Regions from separate parts of the Homo sapiens genome. Here region 2 is linked to region 1. Evidence: promoter capture Hi-C in human tissues and cell types (Jung and others, 2019). All regions are on one chromosome and are shown on one strand. The core of a region is centred on a gene start or on the middle of the fragment in contact, and the rest is flanking DNA. Distances in the headings are between cores, read along the strand shown.

Region 1 (3,293 bases), core at 504-3,003:
CACGCCTTGGCCTCCCAAAGTGCTAGGATTACAGGCGTGAGCCACCGCACCCAGCCTTTTTTTTTTTTTGGTACATCTTCTTTCATACCTATGGGGACCCCTCATTTCTAAGCCCATAGAGACAGGGCTTTGCTGGTTCCGAACTCCTGGCCTCAAGCAATCCTCCCGCCTCAGCCTCCCAAAGTGCTGGAATTACAAGGGTGAGCCACTGCACCCAGCGCATGTAAATCTATTTTGTATCAGTGCAGGATATAAATAAAACTACAGTACACTTAGACAATATTCATTTGCCTCTGAAACCGGCAGAATAAAAATAAACACAGTTCAAGAATTCATGCTTAGAAAATATAAATCTACTTTAGTAGAACATCTTTAGTTATTTTTCTGTTTTTAAAAAACTTTTTTTTTTTTTTGAGATGGGGGTCTATGTTGATCAGGCTGGTCTTGAACTCCTGGCCTCAAGTGATCCTCCTATCTCAGCCTCCCAGCATGCTAGGATTGCAGGCGTTGAGCCACTGCACTGGGCCATCTTTAGTTATTTTTAAACCACATGTATGTACTATTTTGACAAAAATTATACCTAAAAATATATATATTGAAGAAGAACACAAACCTTCTCCTGGACCTCCACCACCACCACCCTTTGGAGTAATGAGTTCTCGACGAAGCTTAGCAAGACGAGCCTTAAGCAGCCCTAAGTGGTGTGCTGTGGCCTTGTTCTTTTGAGTCCGAGCCATCTAAAAGGGAGGAATCACAGCCATAAATTAGAAGCAGTGAACGCTTCCCCCAGCTTTGAGAGGATAATTTTTTTCCCCAAGTCCTACTAATGTTAGCACACCCAGTTTACAGGCTTTAAAAGAGTAAAAGTCCATTATCTCCTCCATCCAGCTCATTTCCCTCACTACAAAGCAAAGCAAAGCCCAAAGAGGAAAGACGATTAAGGTCATTCCAATTAGTGCCCCCAGACTAGACTGAAACCCGTCTGCGGGTTCCTTTTCTACTATTTGCAGCTGTTTGGATCCATCTAACACTGGGACACCACTTTCCTAATTGTAAAGCGCTCTCAGGGCCGCACGCAATGGAATCACACACTATCCAGGCGGAATAAACTGCTCCCACACAGATGTCATTTTACTTCCAGATCCGATTACCGGGAGCAAATACTCTGAATCAGGGGGTCATTAGGGTAGACACTGGGAAAAGGGGGAATAAGGGGGACGCAGCGAAGGATGATGAGGAAAGATCCTGAACTATCTGACCAAGTCAGAGATGGAATAAGGGACAGGATTCAGTGTTTCTCAGAGCAAAACGGAAAGAAACAACATCAGAACAGGAGCCAAACACTGGGAGGGGGAACGGACTAAGGGCCTAAGGTGCAGGGGTGCGGAACGCGGGCCCGGGCAAAGGGGAGTCCGAGAGCGTAGACGCGGGACGAGGGGAAAGGGGGCCCTGACTGAGGAGAGTCGGGGACTCCTAATCGTGGCAGAGGGCAGTCGGAACACGGGCCTCGCTGAGAGAAGTCGCGGAATCTAGGCCCGGTCCTGACGCGGCTCAAAGGAGAACAGGAAGGAGCGACGCCACCAAAGAAGGAATGCTCAGACTAAGAGTGAACCGCCAGCTGCGTCCATTACCTCTGCTTCTATCTCCGCGATCTTAGCTAAGGTGCTGCTCATCGTGGCGAGTACCCTGTGGCCTCCACACTGTCTCCCTTCACACACCCGCGGGCAAACTGCCACCGCCACCAGGCGCTACTGCAGCACGCAGGCGCGGTACTTCGAATTACCGCGAGAGAGTTCCGCGTAGGGGTCACCGCGAGTCGCAAAGCGTGGGGCTGTCTCCTCCCCCTCACCCGACCCCGCCCCGTCCCGCGAGCCAGTGCGGTGTCATAGAGCCCGCGGGAGCGGAGGCCAGAGAGGCCACCCCTGTCTGGGCCTCCCCGAGCGCGCCGAGGGTCGCGCGCAGCTCGGCCCCGCCCAGCGGGACCCGCTCCCAGCTGCTCTGCATGGTACTGAACGCTTCAGTGCTGGAGACCCCAGGGCGTGGTGCAAAGCCGACTCATGCTCCGCACCCCTGTTCCTCGCCAGCATCTGCGGGTCCTGGGTCCCTTTTTCACAGCTGGGGTGACACCCCGACGCCCTCCATGGTCTTGGAGGGAGTAGAGACCCATCTTCAGCCTGCCTCACCCCCTTGGATAAAGAAAATGCCCCCTTTCTATCATTCAAAATTATTTTTAGGTCGGTTTTGTTTACTCCGAACCCCGAGTAGAGCACATGGGGAGCCCAAAATAAGTGCATACTTGAATGGATAATTCCCAGAGAACTGCTGCTTGCAACATAGTTTGTAATACCAAAAAATTGAAATCTATATTAACACCCATCAGTAGGAAAATGGATAAATGAATAATGCCTCTATCCTGTTTTTGAAATATGATTACAGCCGTTAAAACGTAGATCTGTGGTCTGACTGGCTACCCAGGACATGTTAAATGGGAAAACAACTAGCAGAAGGGCACCTACGTAGTGATACCATTTATGTTATTTTTAAAATTAAATGTACATTTATATAGGTGTACGTGTATGAACGTGCAGTTTAAAGGCCTAAACAGAAAAATACATCAGAAGCTCTTAACTGTGGGATGGGATGCAAAGAAAAGGCCTTTCACATTTTATTCCACAGAATTTTGAAGTTAAATTTTTACAAGACGAATGTATCCATGTATTACTTGTGTAATAATAAAATTTAAAATTTCAAAAGACTCCTCTTCCCCAAGTGTCATGAGGAAGCCAGGACGTCCAGGAACTATGTGGTGGTTTTGAAAGCGGTTTGCCTCAGGATCAATGGGTTGTTTTGATAGATTGATTATTCCAGCGGGAGTCGACAGGCCAGGCTTAACCCACAGTCGACAGGCCAGGCTTAACCCACAGGGCTGGCCTCCACCCAGCCCTGGGAGGGAAGTTTAATTTAGTTAAATTTGTAAACAAGAACTATTCTAACTTCCCAGAGACAAAAAAGGGAGGTTTTCTTGTGCATAAAGAGGGAGAAACAGAAGGGAAAGCTTTTACAGAAGGTCCCCAAAGGGCCAAAGAGAGTTTCTTCTTTCTTTTCTTTAACCTCAGCCTTTTTCATAAATAAATTAAGGGATGATGAGGTAATTAGATCCCACACTATTAGCAATGGAGGAGGGAAGATGAGGAGGTCCAGCTGGAATGGGACATGATCAAAGATCAATCTTAAAAGACAGATAAAATCAAATCAGCAGGCCTATCCTAACTTGAAGTACTTAAGGAATTAAT
Region 2 (3,531 bases), core at 719-3,218, 280 kb after region 1:
GCCCTGAATCTGGTCACAGACTGAGCCCTGAACTTAGTCATTGACAGAGACATGACCCTGGTCACAGACTGAGCCTGGCTCCTGGTCACAGACTAAAGACTAAGCCCAATCATGGACTGAGCCCTGTATCTAGCCCTAGGCTACAGACTACTCAACTAAGGGCTGACCTAGACCCTGTCTGAGCCTGACCCCATCACAGACTAATCCCCAACCTTGGCCCCACTTGAGGAAGACTGCTGGCCTAAATTACATGCTGCCACATAAGAGGCATGGATTATGGGCAGAGATCTGTCTTGGGAGATCTTGGGCTTCTCATGCTGCTGATGCCACAGTGTTCCTTCCTGGTACTGTTATGGTCACAGTCTCCACCACTGGTTCCACTGGCTGGTTGGTCAACCCTCAGCAGCCCAAGCTGTGGCCTTTAGGGGCCACAGCATCCAGGCTAATGCAATGAGAGTGGTTTGGTGGCATCTGTCCAGCAAACAACCAGGGCCCATGGGGTACTGGGGTTTGGCTCTGTCAGCAGCAAGAACGACTCCGTGGGGCCTCTGGCTTCAGTTACTCTGAGGCCCTTGCTGGGGTAGGGGTTGGAGTAGAAGGAAATAGTGGGGTATGTCCCATTATTTTCGTAAATAAAGTTTACTGTTTGTGTTTAGGTAATCCATGCCCATTACACAAAACACAGAAGGAAAACATTTACCTATAATTTCATCCACCAAGAAATAATCGTTCTGACTTATTGGTTTGTTTCCTTATAGATATTTTTTGGTGGGGGCGGGGGTCTAGGCATATATATTTATATATACATGTTGTATATAATATGCATATATATTTATATACATGTTGTATATAATATGCATATATATTTATATACATGTATATTTACATATACGTGTTATATATTTTATATAGCTATATCTATTTTTTGAGATGGAGTCTCACTCTGTCGTCCAGGCTGGAGTGCAGTGGCATGATCTCAGCTCACTGAAACCTCCACCTCTGGTCCAAGCAATTCTCCTGCCTCAGCCTCCCGAGTAGCTGGGATTACAGACATGCACCACCATGCCCAGCTAATTTTGTATTTTTAGTAGAGACAGGGTTTTGCCTTGTTGACCAGGCTGGTCTTGAACTCCTGGACTCAAGTGATCCACATGCCTTGGCCTCCCAAGTGCTGGGATTACAGGCGTGAGCCACCAAGACTGGGCCTATACATGTTTTATAGAATTGGTTGGTTACTGTGTTGCTGCCACAATGTCCAGCAACACAGTAGGGTTAGGGTTAGGGTTAGGATCCTGTTAAGGTTGCAGCCCATCTCCTTCTTAACAGGAACTGGAATATGGTGGACCCCACCCTCAGCTTCAGGAATGGGTCCCAGTTGGTTAAGCCAGTAAGCAATTCCCATTTCCCCAGGCACATGATTAGATCACGAATGAACTAGCAAGATACAAGGAAATTTTTGCTCAGGGCTTTTGGGAAAGGAAGCTTATTTTCTCTCCTGAGGAGGCTGCCAAAAAAGATGATCTTCCTTCCATTAGATGTAAATGAAGAGGCCAATGGCTCTAGTTACTGCTGGCAGCCATCTTTACACCATGTAGAAAATTGGCCTACTGATAAACTGACATTATGGAAAGCAGAATGGAGAGACACCAGGCTTTGGTGACTTCATTAACTGGATCAAACTTCACCTGAAGCCCCACCTGCCATTGGACTTTTTTTTTCTTCTTTTTGAAATGGAGTCTCAATCTGTCGCCCAGGCTGGAGTACAGTGGCACGATCTTGGCTCACTGCAACCTCCGCCACCCAGGTTCAAGCGATTCTCCTGCCTCAGCCTCCCGAGTAGCTGGAGTTACAGGTGCCCACCGCTGCGTTTGGCTAATTTTTGTATTTTTAGTAGAGACGGGGTTTCGCCATGTTGGCCAGGCTGGTTTCAAACTCCTGACCTTAGGTGATCTGCCCGCCTCAGCCTCCCAAATTGCTGGGATTACAGGCGTCAGCCACTGTGCCTGTCCTGGACTTTTAAAATTATTTGAGCCAACAGAGTCCCTTTATTTATTTATTTATTTAGAGACTGAGTGTCGCTCTGGCACCCAGGCTGGAGTGCAGTGGCGCAATCTTGGCTCACTGAAACTTCCACCTCCCGGGCTCAAGCAATTCTCTTCCTCAGCCTCCTAAGTAGTTGGGATTACAGGTGTGCACCATCATGCCCAGCTAGTTTTTGTGTTTTTAGTAGAGAGGGGGTTTCACCATGATGGCCAGGCTGGTCTCCATCTCCTGACCTCAAGTGATCTGCCTATCTCGGCCTCCCAAAGTGCTGGGATTACAGGCATGAGCCACTGGGCCCAGCCCCTTTATTTTTATTATTTTTTGACACAGGGTCTTACTCACATTGCCCAGGCTAGAGTGCAGTGGTACGATCTTGGCTCACTGTATTATTTTTTATTTTTTATAGGAGATGGGGTCTCACTCTGTCTCCCAGGTTAGAGTGCAGTGGCATGATCATAGCTCACTGTAGTCTTGAACTCCTGGGCTCAAGCAGTCCTCCCACCTCAGCCTCTGGGGTAGCTGGGACTACAGGCACTGCCATGCCTGGCTAGATTTTAAATATCTTTTTTTAGAGATGGGTTCTCACTATGTTGTCCAGGATAGTTTGGAACTCTTGGCCTCAAGTTATCCTCCTGCCTCAGCCTCCTGAGTAGCTGGGTTTATAGACACAAGCCACCACAACCAGCTCCCTTTATTGTTTAAGCCAGTTTAAATTGGGGTTTCTATGACTTGCAGCCCACAGCATCACAACTCCCAATTGATATTACCAGATTACTGTTTTTGTTGCTTTTTTCTTGCTATTTAATACCATAACCACGAACATTCTCCATGTCATTCCATCTATGCTGCATCTTTTTTTTTTTTTTTGAGATAGAGTCTCACTCGCCCAGGCTGGAGTGCAGTGGTGCGATCTCAGCTCACTGCAACCTCTGCCTCCTGGGTTCAGGCAATTCTCTTGCCTTAGCCTCCCAAGTAGCTGAGATTACAGGCAGCCATCACCATGCCCAGCTAATTTTTATATTTTTAGTAGAGATGGGGCTTCACCATATTGGCCAGGCTGCTCTCAAACTCCTGACCTCAGGTGATCCGCCCACCTCGGCCTCCCAAAGTGCCGGGATTACAGGCGTGAGCCACCCACGCCCAGCCTGCTGCATCATTTTTAACAATTGCATGGTTTTCCATCCTATGGAGGTACACTCATTAATTTAACTCATCCCCTGCTGTGACATGCTTAGGTTATATCCCCAGTTCTTCACCACGATAAATGGTATTCTAATAAACAAGCTTGACCTAACAATCCTCTCTCTGATGATTACTTTGGGGCTAATTCTGAAAAATGGAATTACTGGGTCAAAAAAAGTTTTTAGAGTTTTGATTTTGCCCTTCAGAAAGCCAGGGTGAATTCATACTTCCCCAGCAGTGAACAGAGTGTTAGAGATAGCTTACTGTGTGAATAGTCTGGACAAGACTAATCATATTGACTACATA

What was found. The method cuts DNA at HindIII sites, captures the fragments that hold promoters and counts their contacts. A contact is called where the count stands out against the background at its distance.
Region 2: a contact is called between a fragment that was not itself captured here and the fragment with the promoter of DRG1 in region 1, in 1 of the 25 tissues and cell types used here (dorsolateral prefrontal cortex).

Annotation. Positions count from the first base shown.
Region 1 is chr22:31,398,064-31,401,356 of GRCh38, reverse strand. DRG1 (developmentally regulated GTP binding protein 1) reads right to left here and starts at 1,753. Exons shown (of 9, transcript NM_004147.4): 1 at 1,632-1,753; 2 at 614-737. The coding sequence starts at 1,673. RefSeq lists enhancers at 1,644-1,693, 821-1,726 and a silencer at 1,814-2,093. The HindIII fragment of the contact is 5,082 bases long and covers 1-3,293 here.
Region 2 is chr22:31,115,055-31,118,585 of GRCh38, reverse strand. The region is part of intron 1 of LOC105372995 (a long non-coding RNA gene); the gene reads left to right. Among named protein-coding and RNA genes, the nearest start is that of INPP5J, 6.1 kb to the left of the region's middle. The HindIII fragment of the contact is 5,360 bases long and covers 1-3,531 here.